Regions from separate parts of the Homo sapiens genome. Here region 2 is linked to region 1. The links are contacts of gene promoters, found by promoter capture Hi-C in blood cells and fetal thymus (Javierre and others, 2016). All regions are on one chromosome and are shown on one strand. The core of a region is centred on a gene start or on the middle of the fragment in contact, and the rest is flanking DNA. Distances in the headings are between cores, read along the strand shown.

Region 1 (7,471 bases), core at 1,365-3,864:
GGCTATTGTGCTGCTTGGTCATAAGTGTTAGGACGCTCACTTGCCATTCTTCCAAAGCAGGTACCTTCACCACGTCTCGACACAAGGGGCACATCGCTCTAAAATCATGGTTTTCTAGTATATACCTCTGGATGCAATCAAAGCAGAACACGTGTGTACAAGAGAGAGAAATGGAACAGGAGAAAAAATCCAGGCAAACTGGACAGGACAACTCTGCTTGCAGGCGTTTGGCCATGGTTCTTAAGGGTTACTCCTTAGCCGTGAAGTAAACTGAAGTGATCCTTTATTGGCTTCTGGAAGCACTTGGGAGCCCTCAGTACACAATCCACTCTTCAATAGTCTAAATCCAAGATTAAATAATATAAATTAATAAATAAGTTATTGGCATACATAAATGAATTATATTATTTAATAAATAATAATAAATTTATTAACTAAGAAATTAAGAATAACAAAAAAATAATATTTCTGCAGTTTGTGTATGAAAGTGACACTAAATTGCTAGAGAATCACAGTAATGTAGTCATGGTGATAAAAATGATTTCGAAACTCTTCAAACTCTAGATAATCACAAGACAGAAATAGGACAGTGGAAACTTTCTTTTCAGACAGTGCAGCTTACCTAGTCTGAAGACTTCCAGGTGATGTGTTGGCTGCTCCGGCCAAAGTTTCTCCTAATGGGGGCTGAATTCAAGTGGGTCTTTAACAGAATCTCAGTATAGTCTCCACTCAGTATTTCTTTGTAGATCCTCTGCAGTTCAGGAAAAAGAATGTTCATGTCTAAATTCAATAATGAAAATAAAGCCAATTCTACATTAATCATCACAGAAAAGTGACTCTAAGGAATCCTCAGAATTTCCAGGAAAATTACCACATGTGAGTAAAGCCAGCAAAATCCACTGCAAAATGAGAAGCCCATAAAAGAATCAAGTTTAAGGACAAAGTGTTATTAGATGAAATGCTTTAAAGCACTCTAAGAAAACTAATTAAGGCTTGAATTAATGTGAATAAAAATATAATAGTCATCAACTTCTCCAAAATAATCATGCCTGAATACAAACCAAAAAGATGTTCCAGACAAGGAAGATGCCCTCCTGTTACCCCAACTGCTCCCAAAGCTTGAGAGCCTCTGGTGCTCCCAGAGGACTTCCCACCATGGCTATTATTCTTTGAGTGAGCTGTCTCTGACATGCTGGGCACAGCATATTGGACCAGGCTAGACCCATGACCCAAAGACAGCCTCGCAAAGCTGGACAGCACCTTTGAGATTATGTGAACAGAGGACTGTTCTCCAATAAGAGCCTGCACTGAGCAGTAACTAGCAGAACTCCTTACCAAGAACCCACAAATCACACATTCAGTGGTGACAGTAGTAACAGAATGAGGGACAGAAAGAGGAGCAGCATCAACATTACCAGAGAGAGGAAGTGATGAACACCGATGAGGCCAGCCTAAGACTGAGTTACTAGAACTGTCCTACATCCCAGAACACATTCTCTAATCTCTTTCCAACAAATACTTATTGAGCCCCTTCTGTGCTCTTGGCCTCAACTGGACTCTGGAAACACAAACGTGTGTAATAAACAGGGTATCTGCCCACATAAAACTTTGTCTTCCAAGTCCTGATCAGCATTCCAATCTCATGGTGCCTGGCTGGCGGACAACCAGAGATTACCTCTTTCTTAAATTCTGTTATCTTTTTCAATTTAATGGGAAATTTAACATGGTGCTGGAAATCTAATTGCCTAACCCACCTTGGAATGTATCTAAGAAAACAATTTTACAAAAGAAAAAAAATGCTACACTTATTCACAAGTTGTTCATTTCAGTGTTAACTACCATCCCAAATGATCAGGAACAATCGAATTATCTAACAATAATAAAATGATTCAGCTAATTATGACACAACTACTAAAAGTGGCCAAGTATATTTAAGTGAAAACCCGAAGTGAAGTCTTTTTTTTTTTTTGAGACGGAGTCTTGCTCTGTCGCCCAGGCTGGGGGTGCAGTGGCTCCATCTCGGCTCACTGCAACCTCTGCCTCCCGGGTTCAAGCAATTCTCCTGCCTCGGTCTCCTGAGTAGCTGGGATTACAAGCATGTGCCACCACGTCCGGCTAAGTTTTGTATTTTTAGTAGAGACGGGGTTTCACCATGTTGGACAGGCTGGTCTCTTGACCTCGTGATCCACCCACCTCAGCCTCCCAAAGCGCAGGCGCGAACCATGGCGCCCGGCCGAAAACCCAGAAATCTTTTAAGAAATGTTGGAAAATAAAAAGAAACCATTTTAAAACCATTTAAATCCATTGTAGTTGAAAACACATAAAAATACAAGTTCATGCAAAGAGTGACCTGAGGTTCATATGTAAAAATTTAAATGGCAAAGTTATAGTTAAAGGTGAAGAAAGCTCCCTGGCACAGGAAAAAACTAGTTCTTTCTCCTCTAAAATAAATAGTTAAAGGCATTCGAAAACACCAGTTTGTAGCCAAAGACAGAATAGGACATTGGAAATAGCTTAAACAGAAGGTATAACTTACCTTGACTTGGAGACTTCCAGCAGAATTCTAAAAGATCCGAAGCCTACGTCTCTACCTCTACAGACCTCTGCTCCTCTCGGAGTTTCCGCGGAGAGACACCAGCGTTTTTATACTGCCTGGAAAACATTGTCCAACCAATCAGAGTCAGAGGCTCCGCCCCAAAGGTTGTACCACTCTAATCTGAGTAAACTCATCAACCCACCCTTCCGTTTATGATGATGACATTAAAGCAGGCTTCAAATTATATAGTAAAAAAATTCAAAATTTCTTAATAACTCCCTGAATTAGAGTGAATCTACTGCCATCTGCTCTTGTCTCTAATTTCAGAACTCAACTTTAAAAAGCAAAATGTGTTGGAGATCAAATACAGAAATGCACTGCTGAAACCTAATCACCTCGTGGCTAATGTAATCATTGGTGTTCCTATTCCTGATAGAATCATGAGCGGACAGGATCTACAACAGTTTTCATGTCCTTTGACTCAACAATTCTACTCTTAGGGGTACTTACTGGACAGGATAAGAAAGATGGCAGCTAGGCAAGGCTATTGTCCTGTAATTATTAATAATTCCATTTTTTACTCTCAAAAGTGTTCTTGGATGAACGGTAAATTTTATGGTGTCTGTATCGAGAGCAGAAGGAGCAGTAAAAGTCACAACAGAGGAAAGCTAAGACACAAACTTCCAAAAAAGGATTTGGAGGGTGAATGAAGTCCCATTGTAGAGAGGATCGCTGGAATATACGTTTTCCCCAAGAGAGGCTGCATTCTAAATAACCTCTCCTTTCTCAGGCTTCCTGTTCTGCAAGGCCCAACACACAGCTTACACAGCTTTTACTTCATTTTTACCTGGTGCTATCTCCTTTTCTGTGAGTTAAATACTTGCAGGAGCAGGTCTCAAGCGTTGCTGGGGTTTTTTTTTGTTTTGATTTTTGACACAATCTTGCTCTGTCTCCCAGGTTGGAGTGCAGTGGCTCAGTCTCGGCTCATTGCAACCTCCACCTCCCAGGTTCAAGTGATTCTTGTGCCTCAGCCTCCCTAGTAGCTGGGATTACAGGAGGCCAAGGTGGGCAGATCACATAAGTTTAGGAGCTCAAACTTTTTAAATTGTAATCTCAAGACCCTTTAAACTTGAGATTTTAATCTCAAGAATCCTTACACTCTCTTTTTTAATTATTCAAAAATGTCATTTTATTTTTTCTTTCATTTTATTTTGAAATAATTTTAGACACAGAAAATTTGTAGGAATAGTAAAAAGAGATATATTCTTTACCCAGATTTACTATTTGTTTTTTAATTGTCTGATGTATGTATACACTGTGAACTGATTAAATCAAGCCAATTAACATATCTGTCACTTCACATACTTATCATTTTGTCATGAAAATGTTCAAAATCTACTATCTTAGCAATTTTTAGGTGTGCTATACATTATCATTAGTTATATCCACCATGATGTACAATGGATCTCCAAAGAGTATTCCTTCTATCTACCTGAAAATTTTGTACCTTTTAACCAATATCTCCCCATTTCAGTCTTCTTTTCATCCCAGTGCCTGGTAGCCACCATTCTACTCCATGCTTCCATGAGTTCATTTTTTTTTACTTTTTTCCATTCCACGTATAGGTGAAATCATGCAGCATTTGCCTTTCGGTACCAGCTTATTTCACTCAACATAATGTCCTCCAGGTTCCATGTTGTTGAAAATGATAGAATTTCTTAAGACTCGATAGTATTCCATCATGTACATGTACCATGTTTTCTTTATGTATTCATCTATTGAGGAATATCCTGATTCTTTATGCATTCATCAGTTGATGAATATAAGTTGATTCTCTATCTTGGCTACTGTGAATAATGCTGTTATGAACATAGGAGAGCAGATATCTCTTCAATGTACTGATTTTATTTTCTTTGGATATATATTCAGAAGTAGAATTGCTAGATCACATAGTAGCTCTATTTTTAGTTCTTTGAAGAACCCCCATACTAGTTTTCATAATAGCTGTGCTAATTTACATTCCCACCAATGGTGTACGAGGTTTCTCTTTTCTTCATATCTTTGCCAGCATTTGTTATCTCTTCTCTTTTTTATTTATTTACTTTTTTCTCATGCCTGTAATCCCAGCACTTTGGGAGGCCAAGGCGGGTGAATCGCGAGGTTAGGAGTTCAAGACAAGCCTGGCCAAGATGCTAAAACCCCGTTTCTACTAAAAATAAAAAAATTAGCAAGGCGTGGTGGCGGGCACCTGTAATTCCAGCTACTTGTGAGGCTGAGGCATAGAATTGCTTGAACCTAGGAGGCGGAGATTGCAGTGAGCCGAGGTCGCACCACTGCACTCCAGCCTGGGAGACAGAGCAAGACTCCGTCTCAAAAAAAAAAGAAAGAAAGAAAAAATTATTCTTACAGGTGTAAGGTGATATCATTTGCACTCTTATACATAAATGAGAAATCCAAAAAGCTTTTTGTTCATATGAATTATATTTCTTCATATTTACAATATTAGAAATTCAAACTGAGAATTTTTTAAAGCTCTAATTAATTAAAATAAAACTATTACATGTTAACATAAATAATATAGTTTTATTTAAACAAATAACTATTTTCTAAAACAAAAACAATTACTTAGAAGAGTTCCATTGTCTTGAATGTTTGCAAACCTCTGTAATTTTTGCTTAATAAAAGACATCTGGATTCTTACATCTACTTTTGCTGAACCTGTTGTGATATGTTGCTTTGATTTAAATATGTGAAAAAAAATGTGGCTTCCCACAGATGTTTAGTTGGAAAAGGGAAGATTCTGCAGACTCACTAAAAGTGTCTCAGGGACCTCCAGGACCTCTCTAAACTATTCAAAGATCATTGCCCTACTACAAATTCTATAACTCTAAGTGGCAGCAGCAAATCTTAGTTCCTTGGTAACCAAAAACTCTAATGATGCATCCAGCCATCTTTTCGTCTGGCTTCTGCCATCTCAAAACTAATACATATGATATGGCTAAATATGGAACATTTTCTCTCCTTTTTCCAATAATGATGAGGCTTTTTTCACTTTTCCATTTAATTTATTTAACTGCAGTGATGATTCCAAATCAAGTTTTTCTCTATCACTGAATAACACCTACTAGGCCCTCAACAGATGTTGATAATAACAAAAAACATCATTCCTTACTGACTCTTACATTTTTCAGCCAGCTCTGACTGTGGCTGGACCATACACTGACTTCATGCCTCTAAGCTTTTGTCTGCCAGGAGAAATATTTTTTTTCCCAGAAGTACTCACTTTGATTCCCAGATTCTCCATTATTACAGGAATACTGAATTCAGAGAGAAGCACCATTTTTTTTAATTTTCAAGTGCTGGAAATATTGGAAGCCACTTATCTGTGATATCTTAATACTCTCATGACAACATATCAAAAATGTGCATGAAAATTTTTTTAATTTTTAAAATAATTTTTAATTATCATTAATGCTTCCATGAGTTAAGATTAAATCACAAATTAATTTTGTTTCCATAGCTTCCTGATTAAAAAAGGAATCAACTTTCACACATGCTAATTAGATAAGATGAAGCCACTAGTGGGGAGGAGGGAATAATCAGATCTGTCAGGAATCTAAGATACTTACAAGTGGATGATATGTTTGCTCAAAACACAGTTTGCATTTTTCAAGAGGCAGCAGCTGTAGTGGGGCAGCTTTTCACAATTAGCTTCCATCCCCTGGTGTGGGGCAGGTGCTGGCTTGCAACCTCCTCTTCTCTCCCACCCGTGTCCTCTCCTCTTTTCTGCCTGGTTATACATTAAAAGGGACCCTTCTGTCTATCTTAAAGAAGATAGAGGGCATCTCTCTGAATTATTAATGCCATCAAAGCCTGCTAATGGAGTTCCCTGGCTCTTCTCTTCAAAAGGAGCTGTGTTTTGCAGATCTGGCGAATTTCATGAAGAGGAATATTTTTGGCACTTAGGATATGTAGAGTGCTCCACTTCCACACTTGTTTTAGAGTACAGACTACAGTAAAAACCAGAGATGACATGATTAGACTCCATAGTTACATATTTGATAACATGTAGTTCCTACTATAGTTCTATTAATGAACTCCTTTATTTTTGTTCCTCTAAAATTTTTGTCAAACATGTTAAGAAAAAATTGAATAATGTTCGTGCATTTTATGCACATGGTGTGCTTATAGCTGTATAAGAACCAACAACAGATTTCCACTTCTACAGCATATTATCTGCAAGAATAGTTTGCTCTCACCTGAGTCCCTATGTAAGTTTCAACAACCATAGCCACTGTGGAATAAATGAGTAGTGCTCAGTTACCCCAAGTGTGCGCACCCTTCTTTCACTGATAGGTCCCAGACCCCAAGCAGGGGCCAGAGGGGGACAGTGTGAATCCAAGGGAATTTGAGGAGTTCAAGAATATGGACACACAGGTGACCATGCCACTTGAACTCTTTACTTTTGTGGTTTCTAGAGCCAAATATAAGTGTTTTCAGATTATGCATACATTCTCTCCTCTAGTTTAGGGCTTTCAGAATATTTTTGTGTGAATGAGGAAGTGTGAATCAAAATAAGCTTCCTTTCCACCCAGCTATCTGGCATTCAATGTGTTATCAAATGCACACTATGAATCTCTCAAAATGGCTGGAGCCCCACCCCTACTCCAGGATGCAAGATACATCGAGGCAAGCTGTCTACGGTCAGTCCCACCTGGGAGCATCAGCCCCTGGGGGTTGGGAGCTCTGGACACAAGCAGAGATCCAGCCTCATGGTAACTTCCTCCTCCAACTGATTGATCCTCGTTGGTGGTTGCCCATTAGTCTCCAGATAAGGACCCAAATCCCTAACAGGTATCCTGGCCTTGGCCCTGCTGCTCTCCAGCCTCATCTTCTGAAATCAAGACACAAAGCCTCCTTTCACTACTTTCTGGT
Region 2 (7,471 bases), core at 1,393-3,892, 1.6 Mb before region 1:
TTGACATCCAAAAATTCAAGCCATGACTGAATTAAGGACGACTTAACTTTAGCTGTAGGATTTTCCTAACTTTTTTTCTTTTCTTTCATTTTCACTATGTTTTCTTGTCTGTCTGTTTTTGGTGTTCTCATTTTTAAAAGCTTTATCTTTTCTGTGCTTAAAAAATAAACTCTCTATTTGGTGATGAGGCTCTTTCGATAGGGCCTTGCAGTTGTTAAAATTCTTCAGCCTACTGAAAAATGAAATACTACCACAGAAAGCTTTTTTTAAATCTATAGGTCAAAACCTAGAGTTAGGGCCACCTTTTCTCCCTCTGCACCCCAATCCAGTGACTATTCATAGCTTGTACTGCCATCGTTTAGGAAACACCCAACACAAAGCTTATTTAGACCGAATTCATTAATAATAAGATTGCATAACTTTTTATATTTTAAAAATAAAGTATATTTTGAAATAATATATATACATTTTATATTTCAAAATAGGTTTTAATCTTTTCCCAATCTTTATTTTTAGACGTTAAGGAAGAAGATAAATCCAAGGACAACAGTGGTGAAAAAACAGATACCAAAGGGTAAATGATGTTCCTTATCAAGTACTTTTTACATACTATAAAAATACTAAACATGTTTATTGGTGTGTGTTTGTGTACACACTTCAGAAATACTAGACTGAACCTTAGAACATCATTATGAGGTGCTCTGAATTTTAGTTTGTATTGGTACATAAGACAACATATGCCATCTTACCTATTGGTTTATCAGTATAACTATATCAGTCAGTTTGTATTCTTGTACGTAGTTTATCTGAGACCCTTTTTTGCTGTTATCTTTTATATATGCACTTAATGGTTTTCATGGTGTTCTTATTTCTGTGTACATGATTTTTTTAGTGTTGTGAGATAGGTAAATTTAAGAAACAATTTTAAGTAAAAACAGTTGAGGATTTTAGTGTCAGAAAGCATGTAAATGTTTGGGCACACATAATTTTGTGCCAGCCTTTACAGGATAACTTGGAATAGTTTATTAAATCACTAGAAAAATTAAGGCATTAATTACTCCAGAAACACTTAAGACATTATCAATTAATGTGTTTCTTAGCATGAGCCTACAGGACCTGATCAATATAATAGGTCAGTGCATTTAAACCAAGATTGTGCCATTTTTAATATTTCACATTGCCTCTTTTAACAGAACCAAATCAGAACAGCTCAGCAACCCCTGAATTTGACAGTCTCACCAATTTCAGAAAATCATTAAAAAGAAAATATTGAAAGGAAAATGTTTTCTTTTTGAAGACTTCTGGCTTCATTTTATACTACTTTGGCATGGACTGTATTTATTTTCAAATGGCTTTTTCGTTTTTGTTTTTCTTGGCAAGTTTTATTGTGAGTTTTTCTAATTATGAAGCAAAATTTCTTTTCTCCACCATGCTTTATGTGATAGTATTTAAAATTGATGTGAGTTATTATGTCAAAAAAACTGATCTATTAAAGAAGTAATTGGCCTTTCTGAGCTGATTTTTCCATCTTTTGTAATTATCTTTATTAAAAAATTGTACTTGGATTATCTTTTGTCTGTTTATTACTACAATATGAAGTCTTGTTTCAGTGGCTAATGACATCATTTCTGTAGACTTACAATACACTCTAGGTGAAAGATAATGATTACAGCTTGAAAGATAACTATTTGCTGTTTCTTTGGGAAGAGTATTTATAGTAATTATTACTTATCTTTGCAATAGAAATTCTACCACCTTGCCCTCTATAGCTTAGCCAGTTAGTATCAGTGAAGATTAACATCCCATTACAATTTATGAAATAATACAGACTCTGCAATTGAGATGTAGGAGTTCTTTGAGTTGACCCAAAGATTCTCAAAATTGAAATGGAAATTCTGAATTGAAAGAAGAAACTGACCAGAACTTGTATTGACCAGACTTGCCTATAGTATATTGCTGGTTTAAAATGGAACCTGCAGACAAAACCTGTTTCTTTTACTGCATTTACATGGCATCCAGGTTCCATTATTATTTACGTGACATCCAGGTTTCTAACTCAAGGAAATAAACACAACTGATTTATCATTCAGCAACTACTTATTGTGTGTCTGCCCATTTTAAGACTGTAGGAGTGTAACTGAATATAATGGAAAAATGCTTTCACTCAGAGCTTACACTCAGAGCTTACATTCTAGTAGCAGGAAGCAGACAAATGGGGGTAACTCCTGCTACTAAGATGTGCAAAGAAGACAAAACATTTTAGGAACTTGCCAAAATCAGTGAAATCTCCCTTTTTGTCAGGCCCACATTGATTCTTTTGAGATTAAAAATTACAGAATGCCAGAAGATAATTCAGTCAAAAGTATTTCTCTTCAGTGCAGTAAAATATTAAAAGAAAAAATATTTCTCTACAAGCCTCTTAAATGTTTCAGACATTCACAATAGCACCTAGACTTTTGTAATGAACAGCTGTGCACCCACCCCGACTTAACAAATATTTTACTTTTGCTATATTTGCTTCGGTGTTTTTTTCTTAAAATACACCGAAATTGAAGCTCTCTTTGTGTACTTTGTCGTTTGTAATCCTCCCTCCCTCCCAGCCTTAAGAAGTAATCACCATTGTGATTATTTTATCCATGTTTTTGTGAATATTTTACCCATGTTTTTGTACTTTTGCTACATATTTGTTATCAATCTGTAAACCTTTATGACATTAGGAACTAAGAAACTTAGTCCCTTCGTTAGGGGGATAATGAAATGTATTTAGTGTTTGTGAAACATAGATGGTATGTATTTGGACAATTCTGTAACTTTGCTTTTTTTATTTTTATTTTTCCATAGCTTATTGGGGAACAGGTGGTGTTTGGTTACATGATTAAGTTCTTTAGTGGTGATTTGTGGGATTTTGGTGGACCCATCACCCAAGCAGTGTACACTGCACCCTATTTGTAATCTTTTATCCCTCGCCCCCCTCCCACCATGCCTCCCGTCTACCATGATGATCCTGTTTTAAATAAGAAAATACCATTTCGCAGGCTCCAGATGTTCTGGCATCCTCCCTGTGGATTTCCCAGTGCCTGCAGCTCACAGGACAACAGGGGCTGTGGTAGAGTCACCTATGAGATCCTGGAGTAGTGGATGGAGGAGATGGAACAGTGAAGACGGAAACTGAGCTCAGTATCCGGGTGCCAGGAGACAAAGGCCCTTTGCTTTTTTTCATTTAATATTCTGATCTACCCCTGTTGACACATGTTAAGTATAGTTCATTTTGACTGCTATGTATTATGTTCCATTGTGTGAACATACTGAAATTGTACACTTCAATACTATACTGGATCTCCTTGGGTGTATTTAAGAGGTTTTGTTTTTCTAAGTAGTTGGTTATATACAACTAAAACCTCAAGAGAACTATCTAAAGCAATTTCAGCAAGGTGATTTGGTACAGCATTAATAAACAGAAATCAGTAACACTTAGTGACCAAGTCTGTTGGAAGAACAAAGACCCCCATTTGTAATAACAAAATTTTTAGAAATAATATGTAAAGAAGCTATGGTTCTTGTGTCTAGTAAGGTCAATGTAACATAGTAAGATGTCAGAATACCCTAATACTTTAAAAAATTCATATAGGATAAAAATGATATTTGAAATTGGCAAGGAAAGACATTATTTTGTAAGTGGAATTGGGACAACAACTGGTAACCAAATGGAAAACCCAGTTTTCTGCCCTCCACTAGAAGATTTAAATAGGAAAAGATAAAACTACCAAAAACCTAAACTCTTAAAGCAAATGGATTGAAGAAGGCCTAAGTGTGACACCAAACTCAACTATAAAAGATATATTTGATAACAAAAAAAAAATTAGTTCAGTGGACCAACAAAAACTTAGAAGACAAGTCAAGAAAAATGACAAAAGACAGAGTGGGAGGCAGATTTGTAACTCATCCAGGTCAAAAGGCTCATATCTAAAGATAGTAGAGGAACAAAATGTATAAGGATGTGAACTGGGAAACAAATACATATAAATAGTTTGTAAATATGAAAAGATCTTTAACCTCAGTAAATAAAAAGCTATAGAGAGACTTATTTTTTAACTTAGTTTTTTAAACCTATTATGTTTATTTATTTTTTCTTTTTTTGAGACGGAGTCTCGCTGTTGCCCAGGCTGGTGTGCAATGGCGCAATCTCGGCTCACTGCAACCTCCGCCTCCCAGGTTGAAGCCATTCTCCTGCCTCAGCCTCCTGAGTAGCTGGGATTACAGGCGCCTGTCACCACGCCCAGCTAATTGTTCGCATTTTTAGTAGAGACGGGGTTTCACTATGTTGGCCAGGCTGGCCTCGAACTCCTGACCTCATGATCCACCCACCTTGGCCTTCCAAAGTGCTGGGATTACAGGTGTGAGCTGCCGCACCTGGCTGTTTATCTCTTTTTTTTAGAGAAAGGATCTCGGTCACCCAGGATGGAGTGTGGTAGCCTGATCATATCTCACTACATCTTAGAACTTCTAGGCTTAGGGTATTCTCCCACCTCAGCCTCCCAAGTAGCTGGGACTACAAGTGTGCACCATCACACCTAGCTGATTTTTACATTTTTATTTTGGAGAGATGGTGTCTCCCTGTGTTGCCCAGGCTGGTCACAAACTCCTAGGCTCAAGCGATTCTCCTGACTCAGGCATGAGCCACCGTACCCGGCCTAAACCTATCATGTTACAGACTTAGAAAGCAACTATTGTCAAGTGTTTGAGGAAACTCAGGTCAGGTTTGGTAAACTAAGATATTAACTCAAGTAAAGCTCTTTAATTCATTTAATGAAGGTGCCACATTGTCTCAGTTCTCTATGGCATGGGTGAATGCTGTTCTAAGTCAGCATTGGTACTCTAAGCTAGTTACATCATATCTAAGCTTTGCCCTTCTACCAGAGCTGCTAGCATTCTGTCAATGGGCAATTATTTGAAGTTCTTACATTGAAGTTAGTCACCTACATCTTCTGTTTTTTATGGTTTTGATGTAGTAATACTGCTGAAGTTTTTTTGATAACTGCGATTCATAATATTTGTTATTCATATTGTGATATAAATGATAAGGGCTTTTGAAAACAAGTAGTAATCATTTCAATAGCTTAGGATCTCCACCATAATCTTAGGAAAATTACTAACCTCTGTGCCTCAGTTGCTTCATCATTTAAAATGAGGAAAATAATAGTCCCTACTTAATAGGTTTGTTGTGAGGATTGAGTTAATAACATAGTTAATGCTCAGTAAGGGTTAGCTGCTATTTTTTTTTCTTTTTTTTTTGAAAGAGTCTCACTCTGTTGCCCAGGTTGGAGTGCAGTGGCATGATCTTGGCTCACTGCATCCTCTGCTTCCTAGGTTCAGGTGATTCTCATGCTTCAGCCTCCCAAGCAGCTGGGAGTACAGGTGTGCACCACCACACCTGGCTAATTTTTGTATATTTAGTAGAGACGGGTTCTCACCATATTGTCCAGGCTGGTCTTGAACTCCTTACCTCAAATGATCCACCCGCCTGGGCCTCCCAAAGTGCTGGGATTACAAGCATGAGCCACCGCGCCTGGCTTGCTATTGTTATGAGGTAAAGGTAGATAGATGGGTGAGAGTGGTGCCAGGGGAAGTGTTAAATTTTTGAGTGTTCCTTTAGATGCCAGATGGGTTGTATCTGAGCCTTTTATTGCAGTTTGATGCCTACTAGTGTGAAGACTACTAGGTCATAGTGGATAGAGAAGCAATCTTTTGGAGACCTGATTTTAGCAAGGATACGAATAATATTTGACAACTTTGGGGGGATCTTGATGCCTCTGTAATTTACTCAAGGATAATCTCAAGAAAAATGGCATTAAGTAGATTACAGAAAAAATAGAACTATCATATTGTTATTATTGGCTATTTACATGAGCAATGCGGAGAAATGTTTAGGATTACAGCATTTAGAAGCTTCTCAATTGCTGCATTTCCTCACTGTACCACAAGATGGCAGATACTGCATTTAAAATTTTTTTTTCTGTGTGTTTTCTCTTATAGTCACTTGGTGGCCATGTAACAAGCAGAGCAACATGTATTAACAGATTCTTTTTGAATGCAATATTGGATTAAAAACTTTGAATTAAACTACAATTAAGTTTACTGATTTAGGTTTTCCTATAAGAATTATAACACTAATTTCTAAGTTTTACATCTGCAAAACACAGTAGAGTGTATCTGGTAGTCATTGACTAATTGTGACTTTGCTAGTCAGACAAAATGGAACTGAATATTAGAGCCAGAATAATTTTCTGTTTTGACTGGTGGTAAGAATCAGTTAGTATACAGAATGGGAAAGAATTGAAATTTATTTCTAGGAATTATAGTTATAGTGAAGTTAATATTCAGGGGCATTGGGTGCTTGTTCCACGACTTTTGTTTACTGAACTAAGTACCTAACCCCTTTGGTCTTTGAACACTGCAGAGTTATGATTAGGATTATTAATGAAAAATTCTTTTTTAGTAGAACAAACAGTTAAGGACAGAAGACACCTTGATTAGATTCTGTTATTTGCTCTTTTTATTAAGATTGTTTTTACTCTAAATGTTAAAGAAATGTATAATTATTTCTAAGGTAAAATGAGTAGCAGGATTCTGAATAGGAGATTTTTTTTGGCCAGACCCATTTTGCAGCCAGTGGTTTGTATTTAGGAGTGAGTTGAACAAAGAAGACTCTAATCTGTTTTTGTGTTGTGGATTTTTTATTCTATTGATAAATCAGTAGCTTCCAGCTTCTCTTGTATCCTCTACTAGTCATCTTTTTTGTTTCTTCAGAAATAAACATCCAGGGTCACTTCCCTGCCCTTGCCATATACTTACTAGGATGATGTACAGGTAAAACTTTTAAAGGAAAGTACGGACAGGCAATTCCTAAAGTAAAAGAGAGCACATTATCAAAACTGGCTGTACTTAACAAATACCAACAAAAAGTCATTACACTTCTGGCAACAAATAATGTTTGATTTAAAAAGACAAGAATTTCCCCTTTTGCTCTTATTTTTTAAATATGCTATGTCCTTAAGTGAGAAATGCACTTCAAAAATTTTCTTATTCTGAAGTCTAGCCGGAAAGTTTGAACTTGTGTTGCCTTTGGCTAGACTAGGTGAAATTAAGGGGCTTAAGAGGGCACTGTTGTGTGGCCCTGTGGTAGATAATAGCCCTCCAAGCATGAGGATGGGAGATCTACCATTCACCAGTATTTCCAAAGTTATATTCTTAAAAAGGCTAGATTTCTAATTTCCGTAGAATCTAGGTATGTTCTTTTCAACTCAGCATCTGATAAGAAAGTTTGGGCAAGTAGGTGCGAAAAATTTACTCTAGATACCATTTTCCAGGAAAAAATATAATTCAAGTCCAACGTATTACTAGCTGTCACCTTCCCCAACAATCAAATAAGCATTGTTATTGTCAAACACATTTACTTGTATAGTTCAGTGTT

Evidence for each region. The method cuts DNA at HindIII sites, captures the fragments that hold promoters and counts their contacts. A CHiCAGO score of 5 or more calls a contact.
Region 2: a contact is called between a fragment that was not itself captured here and the fragment with the promoter of RFPL4B in region 1, in 1 of 17 cell types (endothelial precursors). The highest score is 7.1, in endothelial precursors.

What each region holds. Positions count from the first base shown.
Region 1 is chr6:112,342,473-112,349,943 of GRCh38, reverse strand. It overlaps RFPL4B (ret finger protein like 4B), which reads right to left and starts at 2,614. Exons shown (of 3, transcript NM_001013734.3): 1 at 2,537-2,614; 2 at 623-751; 3 at 1-340. The coding sequence starts at 235. The HindIII fragment of the contact is 3,879 bases long and covers 1,121-4,999 here.
Region 2 is chr6:113,934,811-113,942,281 of GRCh38, reverse strand. It overlaps HDAC2 (histone deacetylase 2), which reads left to right. Exons shown (of 14, transcript NM_001527.4): 13 at 517-574; 14 at 1,194-7,471. The coding sequence ends at 1,224. Among named protein-coding and RNA genes, the nearest start is that of HDAC2-AS2, 31 kb to the left of the region's middle. The HindIII fragment of the contact is 4,520 bases long and covers 383-4,902 here.